2 separate regions of the Homo sapiens genome follow, and region 2 is linked to region 1. Evidence: promoter capture Hi-C in human tissues and cell types (Jung and others, 2019). All regions are on one chromosome and are shown on one strand. Each heading gives the region's core, a stretch centred on a gene start or on the middle of the fragment in contact. The rest is flanking DNA. Distances are from core to core; before and after follow the strand shown. Region 1 holds the start of IRGM (immunity related GTPase M). Region 2 overlaps ANXA6 (annexin A6).

Region 1 (4,590 bases), core at 1,417-3,916:
TCTCAGTTGTGTGTTTTTAAGCCCAGAAGTCTTTATTATTACTGATAAACTCCATCTTGAGATTCAAGCAACCTGCCTCTCTACTTGCCTGTTCGAACCTGGAGAGGGCTCCTCCCGACCATTACTTGCCTTGAGGTTATACCGTGGGGTTAACATTTTGTCTTGGTGGTCTCCCTGCACCCTGTCCACACCTTTGAAAATACCCTCATTATGACTCAGTTTGAGAGTGCTAGGACCCTGATGATATAATCTTGCATCCATTTTAAGACACTGATCATTTTTAGCACCTGGTGGAGAGTTCCGTGAAGGGAAAGGACCTTCGAAGCAAGCAGCCTTGCCTGGGAATCTTGGCCCCAACACTCAAAAGATCTCAAAGAACAACACAACCACACTCTCTACATGCCCCCGAAAATTGTAAGATACCCTTCTGCACCAGGTGTGTTTCAATGAGTCCAGTGAAATAAAGGAGAAAAGGAATCAATAGGAGGAGATGGAAAATGTTTAATGAAGACAGGAATTAGTATTCACATACCCGCTCCTTCTGGAGATTTTCCAGGACATTTTCTCTGATCTGCAGTAGCTGCACTTCTGGGAGGGCACCTGTGCTGAGGTCCATGTCTAGCTTGGTCCAGACAATGTAGAACTTCTTTCCCATGTCCTCAGCGGTTTTGGCAAGCATCACATGATTCATGCTGAATTGTGCAGATGCAACCATGATGAAGTCATACCGGTTGAACTGCATTTCCATCAGGTAGTTCTCCAGGGTTGTGGTGGCAGACCCTGTGCCAGGCAGGTCCCACAACACCACATTTGAAAAGTGGGAAGAGAAATAGGAGGCACATCTTTGGGTAGCTTTTACCAGCTCAGTAGGAGGTGAGGCCTTACCCTCATGTCCTGTGTTTCGAAGGGCACTGATGAAGGTGGACATCCCATTGCCAGAGTCCCCTGCCATAGTGATGTTAACTGGTGTCCTGGACACTATCTTCAGAGTCTCCTTGATGTTAGAGATCACCTCTGGCAAGTTCCCATCTGCTGAGGCTTTCTCAACATTCATGGCTTCCATCTTCAATAAAATACCCCAATGCTGGCCAGGCGCCGTGGCTCATGCCTGTAATCCCAGCACTTTGGAAGGCCGAGGCGAGCAGATCACGAGGTCAGGAGATTGAGACCATCCTGGCCAACATCGTGAAACCTTCTCTACTAAAATACAAAAAAATTAGCTGCGCGTGGTGGTGTGCGCCTGTAGTCCCAGCTAATACAGGAGGCTGAGGCAGGGGAATCGCTTGAACCCTGGACGCAGATATTGCAGTGAGCTGAGATCACGCCATTGCACTCCAGCCTGGCAACAGAGCAAGACTCCATCTCAAAACAAACAAAACCCAATGCTTATGGTGTGGCAAAAAGAGGTTAAGGATGCAGCTAATAGAGTGTGAGGGGCACTTGGGACACTCTGTCGTATCTGTGGGCACTGGAGTAAGCTGCGGAAGTAGAAGAGCAGGTGAGTTAGGATGGACAGGGTACACATGAATCATCTGACTTTTAGCATCCCCAGCCCTCAACGAAGACTGCAGCAGACGATCTTGACTGAGTGTTCTTTGATTGTTTTTATTCAAGCAATGTGCACATTTCTTCAGGGAGCAAGAAAGGTAGGGTCCCTGAGGAACGCCCTGAGGCCGGTTGTGCCTCCGAGTCAGCCTCCAAAGCAGGCATGTGGCCATGAGATGGCTTGAAAAGCAGAGAATGAACCAAGTCTCCTGAAAAGCCCAAGAGGTTTTTGTCTTTCCCTCTTTTACTCTATCCTAATATAGGTCTGCTCCTTCACAAGTTTCAGTACATATTTCAAGACCAAAACCAGACAAGTAAAAGTGACCTATATATTTCTCTGCTGAAGATGGCGCCAGAGGACATAAAACATCCAATTCCCATTGCTTACTTGAAGCTGTGATCATCCCTGTTTAACACTTACCTCATCAGGCGGGGGAGCACACGTGCAGAGCAGTACTGAAATGCTGCAATATACGTGAAGTAAGCCACCAGCCTTTGACCCCCGAGCTTCCATTAAGACTGTCATGTTGGGCCCAACTGAAGTGAGGGAGAGGAGGAGACAGCATACTCAAATGCTCTGCTCTTTTTCAAGGCAGTGATTAGACAATTGCTTATCATTGCATTCGCCAAACCTGGCTCTTGCAGGTTCCACAAGGGGCCAGGTATTTGAGACTGATTAAAAGAAGGTGATGTGATTTCCTACTCCTACCGGAATTGGTGGGTTCTTCGTCTCACTGACTTCAAGAATGAAGCCACGGACCCTCGCGGTGAGTGTTACAATTCTTAAAGGCTGCGTGTCCGGAGTTTGTTCCTTCTGATGTTTGGATGTGTTCAGAGTTTCTTCCTTCCGGTGGGTTCGTGGTTTCACTGACTCAGGAGCGAAGCTGCAGACCTTCGAAGTGAGAGTTACAGCTCTTCAGGCGGCGAGTCTGGAGTTGTTCGTTTCTCCCCGGGGGGTTCGTTGTTTCACAGGTTTCAGGAGTGATGCTGCAGACCTTCACGGTGAGTGTTACAGCTCATAAAGGCAGTGTGGACCCAAAGAATGAGCAGCAGCAAGATTTACTGCAAAGTGCAAAAAAACAAAGCTTCCACAGCATGGAAGGGGACCTGAGCAGGTTACCACTGCTGGTTCGGGCAGCCTGCTTTTATTCTCTTATCTGGCCCACCCACATCCTGCTGATTGGTCCATTTTACAGAGAGCCGATTGGTCTGTTTTACAGAGAGCTGATTGGTCCATTTTGACAGGGTGCTGATTGGTGTGTTTACAATCCCTGAGCTAGACACAAAAGTTCTCCACCTCCCCACTAGATTAGCTAGATACAGAGTATAGATTGGTGCATTTGCAAACCTTGAGCTAGACACAGGGTGCTGATTGGTGTGTTTACAAACCTTGAGCTAGATATAGAGTGCCAATTGGTGCATTCACAATCCCTTAGCTAGACATAAAGATTCTCCAAGTCCCCACCAGATTAGCTAGGCTCAGAGTGCTGATTGGTGCATCCACAAACCCTGAGCTAGACACAGGGTGCTGATTGGTGCATTTACAATTCCTGAGCTAGACACAAAAGTTCTCCATGTCCCCACTAGATTAGCTAGATACAGAGGGTCGATTGGTGTGTTCGCAAACCCTGAGCTAGACACAGGGTGCTGATTGGTGTGTTTACAAACCTTGAGCTAGATACAGAGTGCTGATTGGTGTATTTACAATCCCTTAGCTAGACATAAATGTTGTCCAAGTCCCCACCAGACTCAGGAGCCCAGCTGGCTTCACCCAGTGGATCCTGCACCAGGCCGCAGGTGAAGCTGCCTGGCAGTCCCCGGCCATGCGCCTGCACTCTTCAGCCCTTGGGCAGTGGATGGGACTGGGCGCCGTGGAGCAGGGAGCGGCGCTCATAGGGGAGGCTCGGGCTGTGCAGGAGCCCACGGAGTGGGGCAGGGGAGAGAGGCTCAGGCATGGCGGGCTGCAGGTCCCAAGCCCTGCCCTGCGGGGAGGCAGCTAAGGCCGGGGAGAAATCCAGCACAGCAGCTGCTGGCCCAGGTGCTAAGCCCCTCACTGCCAGGGGCCATCGGGGCCGGATGGCTGCTCTGAGCGCGGGCCCGCTGAGCCCACGCCCACCCGGAACTCGTGCTGGCCCGCAAGCGACGCCCGCAGCCCCAGTTGCTGCCCGTGCCTCTCCCTCCACACCTCCCCACAAGCTGAGGGAGCCAGCTCCGGCCTTGGCCAGCCCAGAAAGGGGCTCCCACAGTGCAGCGGCGGGCTGAAGGGCTCCTCAAGTGCCACTAGAGTGGGCGCCAAGGCTGAGGAGGCTCCGAGAGCCAGCGAGGGCTGCGAGGGCTGCCAGCATGCTGTCACCTCTCACTAGCATGGCCTGGCAGGTCTGTTTCACACACTCATTGTGAACACACACAACACTGCACACAGCCACTCATACCTGGTGTGCACACTCACCCATGCCCAGCCATGTTTACTTACCCCCCCACACACACACTCTCACTCACCCTCGGCATGCACACATACACTTACTTGCATTCTGTGCACAGGCCCACACATACTCACACTGACACACGTTCACACACCCTAACATACTTAAGCTGACATGTGTAAACATGAATACATACATCCCTGTTGCACACACTACACTTGCTCACTCAGGCTGCAACATGTTCACTTACCCCACACACAAACACACAAATTCACTCGTGGTGCCACGTTCACACAAACTTATGTTTGATGCACACATGCTCACACACTCTGTGCACATATATATACACTCATGTAGGCTGACACATGTTCACTCACCTACCCTCATGCTTCGTGTGCCCAGTGCCCACACACTCTCTCACATGACACATGTTCGTACACTCATGCACACACAGAATCTTGCCTCCTGAGTGCCCAGGACAATGGATTTGTCCAAGTCTTTGGCCCTTTTAGAGGGCCCAGGAAGCAGAGAACTGGCTCCAGCTGTCTATCTATGAAATATGAAGAAAGGCCCTAATGGAGGAGATGGATGAGAGAGGCCCTGTTCTCTGGAATGTATATGA
Region 2 (4,590 bases), core at 1,438-3,937, 280 kb before region 1:
GGTAAGGCTACAGAAGGAGGCAGGGGCTGGGTCATGAAGGACACGCAAGCTGAATTAAGTGCGAGGACTCTGCCCCAAGGGCAGTGATAGTTCAGTCTCCTGGAAGAAGGCTGGGAAACACTGAAGAACACAAATGAGGGTTAAAGGGGAACCTTTGGCCTGGGCCGGGTGATTGGTGATGACTCTGGGACATCCGGCCCCTGAGGCTTTATCAGGAGACATATGTAAAGCTAGGGGTTTTCCCTTTTTTTTTTTTTTTTTGGATGACTGAAATAAAACTTTATGGGGTGACAGAGAAAGAGATCCAAGTTGTATTCTCCAAAGTATGTTTCCAAAGGGTAATTTTTTTAGGTGTTATGTGCAAAATGTTCTATGGGAAAATAAGTTTGTAACAAACCACAATAAGCAAAGATAAATAAGCCAGTTTCTTTACCTCAGAACTTCTCACAGCCTTTCACATTTTGAAGTCCATTATGAAGCCCCAAGAGGGATATGGAATATGCATCTATACGGATATGTGCATCTGTGTAATATATATTTGTTTGATTTTTTTGCATTTCCCAATATTTTTGCTCATGGAACCCCATTTCCATGCATATTTCATGTGGAAGGACTGGGCTGGGGACTGTCTGGTGGCAGTGCTGTGCTGGGGCACTGGCTTGAAAGGGCAGCGAGCATCTCTTCTCAACTCCGCATATTGGTAGCAAAGTCATATTGGTAACTTGAAATTGTCCATTGCTAGAAGTATTTACACCACAGAAATAGGCAAATGCTATAAATTAGGGCTTCCTCCAACCTGCCCGCTGAGAACCAGTTATTCAATATTAACCAGCACAGGAGGGCCAGGGCTGCTATGAATAAGTGTTCATTCAGCCTTCCCCTCTTTCAGGCTGTGCAGAACCTTCACCTCCTTGTCTGAGAGGAGCCCAGGGCTGGGTGAGAGGTAACCTTTCTTTCTTTCTCTTCAGAATGACACCTCTGGCGAGTACAAGAAGACTCTGCTGAAGCTGTCTGGGGGAGATGATGAGTAAGTGGCTTCTTGGCCCCTGGCTGGAGGGCATGGCCTTGGGGTGCCAGGCGGGGACTCTCCTGGCTCGCATCCTGATGGGTGGATTGGATGAGCTGGGGATTCCCCTGAGCCAGGAGCGTCGCACAAGTGAAAGGCGGCTTTTGCTGGTAGCTGCTGTGCTTGTGGGTCTGTGTGTCTGAGAGTGTGGGGGTCTGAACGTGAGCGTGGTCTCCTGTATATGGAGATGTCTGCTCTTGTGAACTTGGAAAGTCAGTCTGGGGTTGTGGACTAGGAACCAGAATATGAGCATCCAATCCCTGCTATTTCATAGCCATTTCTCGGTTTCATCACCTGTTAAATGGGAAAAGGACACATTCCTGCTCTGCCTACTCATTTATGCAGCATATTTGTGTTAAGTGCCTTCTGGGTGCAGACCCTGTGAGGAAGCCCCTGATGAAGGCCACAGCGCAGAAGGGTATAGACCAGTTTCCAGAAGGGAGCAGTCCTGTGCTGGGGAGAACTGGCTGTGCCACATAGAAAGCATATATAAAAGCACACAGAGATGCCCTAGCCCAGACCAAGGGGAGACTCTTTGGAGATACACGGTGAGACCCAAGGAGGAAGGGGAAGAGCCAGGTGAAGAGGGTCTGGGGACAGTGTTTGGGTGGAGGAAATCACCTATAGAAAAGCCGAGGAGTGAGAAGGAGTGGCCTGATTCATTCATATGTCCGAAGTCATGCATTTATGGAGTACTAGAGAGAGAAATAAGGCAGAGAAGTGGGAGGGCCTGGGGGCCTCTTCCCAGAATGTTAAATTGGGACATTACTTGACCAGATTTGTGTTTGAGAAAGGGAACAGGCTGCGCTCTGATTTCCTTTCTCTGGATCTTATAAAGATCCAATTACAGAAGGGATGCAAGAATTTCCTGTGAACCTTTGGTAAGGACCATAGGGGTTGATGCAGTTCAGCAGATATTACTGAGCTCCTGATGCATCCAGGCACTTTGCAGGAGGAGATGCAGGGCTGGCATGGCCATAGCTTGCTCAATGGCCTCTTTGAGAGGGGAGAGTTGGATAGAAGCCATTCAAATTCTAAGGAAGAAAGGGGAGGCTGAAGGATTGGAAAAATCCTATCCTGCTTGGACTCTGCAGCCAGGAAGGCTGCCCTTAAAAGCCAGCATTGGCCGGACACAGTGGCTCAGCGCCTGTAATCCCAGCACTTTGGGAGGCTGAGGCGGGCGGATCACCTGAGGTCAGGAGTTCAAGACCAGCCTGGCCAACATGGCGAAACCCCATCTCTACTAAAAATACAAGAATTAGCCAGGCGTGATGGCGGGTGCCTGTAATCCTAGCTACTTGGGAGACTGAGGCAGGAGAATCGCTTGAACCTGGGAGGCAGAGGTTGCAGTGAGCTGAGATCGAGCCACTGCACCCCAGCCTGGGTGACAAGAGCAAAACTCCGTCTCAAATAAAAATAAAAAATAAAAAAGGCAGCATTGCAGGGGGTCTCAAGAGATGGAAGGTTCTCAGAAATGGAGGGAGGACTCTGGCGAATGGAGGAGGCATAGGCTGGAGAGAAAGAAAGCTTAATGTGTGTGTGGTGTGTGCACGTGTGTGTATGTGTTGGGGTGTGTGTGTGTGTGTGTGTGTGTGTGTTGGTGTGAGTGTTGCCCATGATGACATTCCTTCCTGTCCTCTCCCTAAACCCCTCCATTCCAGTGCTGCTGGCCAGTTCTTCCCGGAGGCAGCGCAGGTGGCCTATCAGATGTGGGAACTTAGTGCAGTGGCCCGAGTAGAGGTCAGACCTTCCCCTCCTCCTGCTTGACCTCTTGACCACAGCTTCTCTGCTTGCACCTTCCTGCTGCTCTGGTTGGCACCCAGCTGCCCCCTGGCGGCCAACCCGACACGTTGATTCTCACATCTGAAGCTTCCTTTTCTCCCTTGGAGTGGTGAACTGGTGGAGGGGCGCACCTGGTTTCTGCATTAGCTTCTGACACGCTGGAAAGGGTTCTGGCCCACTTACTAACAGGGCTTGCTGAAATGGAGACCTGGCTGGTTCCATGGAGGGGCCTGTCCCGTCTGGAGTCGAAACAGTTGGCCTCAGAGACATGAAAGCTGAGAACAGATGGGCATCCCTGGGTGCACTGGAGGATTTCAGGTTGTCCTCCTGAGCATCCTCAGACTGGGGGTCCACAAAGGACAGGAATGAAAGGTTTCACTAAAGTACTTTAGGCAAACCATTCCAGAGACTGCAACACTTGGTCCACACAAAAAAGCATGGGACCTTGGAGCTCTCTGTTACTTATTCGCTATGTAACCTTTGGAAGGTGCCCCCTCCCTCTGGGCCTCTATGTCTCCATCTTTAAAGTGAGGGGTTAACATGGCAATCTCGGTGATCTCTTAGGGCTCTTGAGCTCTGATGTTCTAGGACAGTGTTCCCCAAATGATAAGGCAAGAGATCTTTGCAGATGATTGTAGGTGATGTGAGAAGTGAATTTAGTTTGGCAGGGTTGAATAACGCTGAACTCCACAGAGTGAATGAGAAAGGCACTCCTTTCCAATTTCATCAGCGTTTCTGATTACGTCAAAGAGGAAGTCTTGGTTTGGTGCCGCCGTCTCTGCAACACTTGCTGATTTTCCTTTTTCACAAAGAGAAAGCTGAGAGAGCTCGCTTTAAGTTTCAGAGCTTCTGGCAAGTAGAGGCATCATGTTAAATTTCATGGTATATCACCTCTTTTGTTTTTATTATGTTGATTTTTGTGGTAAATTGTCAGTTTATGATACATGGTATCAACTTCCTAATTCATGGTAGTTATATAAAATTAATTTCATCCATTCCTTTTTTTTTTTTTTTTTTTGAGACAGGGTCTCACTCTGTTATCCAGGCTGGAGTACAGTGGCATGATCATGGCTCACTGCCACCTCCCCAGGCTCAGGTGATCCTTCCACTTAGCTTCCCAAGTAGCTGGGACCTCAGGTGGACACCACCACACCTGGCTAATTTGTGTAGAGACAGGGTTTCACCATGTTGCCTGGGCTCATCTTGAACCAATGGGCTCAAGCGATCCTCCTGCCTTGGCCTCCCAAAGTGCTGAGATTACAGGCATGAGCCATTGTGCCAAGCCTCATTAATCCACTTAACAATTATTTTTTGAGTGTGCCTATTATGTCAGACACTGTTGTAGGCACCTGGGATATGTAACAGGATAAAACGGATACAATTCCTTGCCTTTTGGGAGTAATTTTAAATGCACTTCAAAAATTGATGCATTTAAGTAGACAGAAAAGAAGTTGAATTACATAAAACCATTAAGAGATGGCATAGTGTGTGTGCTAATTTGGAATAGTGAAAGTCCTTTAGGAGTGACTGAAATTTGGGAAACTCTGTTCTGGTATTTCAGAACTTTTCTGCTGCCTTTTCAGGGGGAATGACTCTTTAAGAGGCAGAGGGGGCCTCGGGGGCAGGGTAGGATTCAGAAGAATTGGGGATGCCCCGGTGGAATAAGCAGCCAAGGGGCACTAGAACCGAGGCAGATCCCGTGGCAGGCGGGAGCCTAGCCAATTTCTCTTGATCAGGACTTG

The links. Contacts are between HindIII fragments. The study calls those that stand out against the background at their distance.
Region 2: a fragment that was not itself captured here is called in contact with the fragment with the promoter of IRGM in region 1 in 1 of the 25 tissues and cell types used here (H1 embryonic stem cells).

Annotation. Positions count from the first base shown.
Region 1 is chr5:150,844,597-150,849,186 of GRCh38, reverse strand. It overlaps IRGM (immunity related GTPase M), which reads right to left and starts at 2,666. Exons shown (of 2, transcript NM_001145805.2): 1 at 1,967-2,666; 2 at 485-1,478. The coding sequence starts at 1,063. The coding sequence ends at 518. RefSeq lists a silencer at 1,786-2,080. The HindIII fragment of the contact is 10,169 bases long and covers 1-4,590 here.
Region 2 is chr5:151,124,618-151,129,207 of GRCh38, reverse strand. It overlaps ANXA6 (annexin A6), which reads left to right. Exons shown (of 26, transcript NM_001155.5): 13 at 969-1,027; 14 at 2,728-2,806. Among named protein-coding and RNA genes, the nearest start is that of ANXA6, 31 kb to the left of the region's middle. RefSeq lists an enhancer at 2,895-3,054. The HindIII fragment of the contact is 4,399 bases long and covers 488-4,590 here.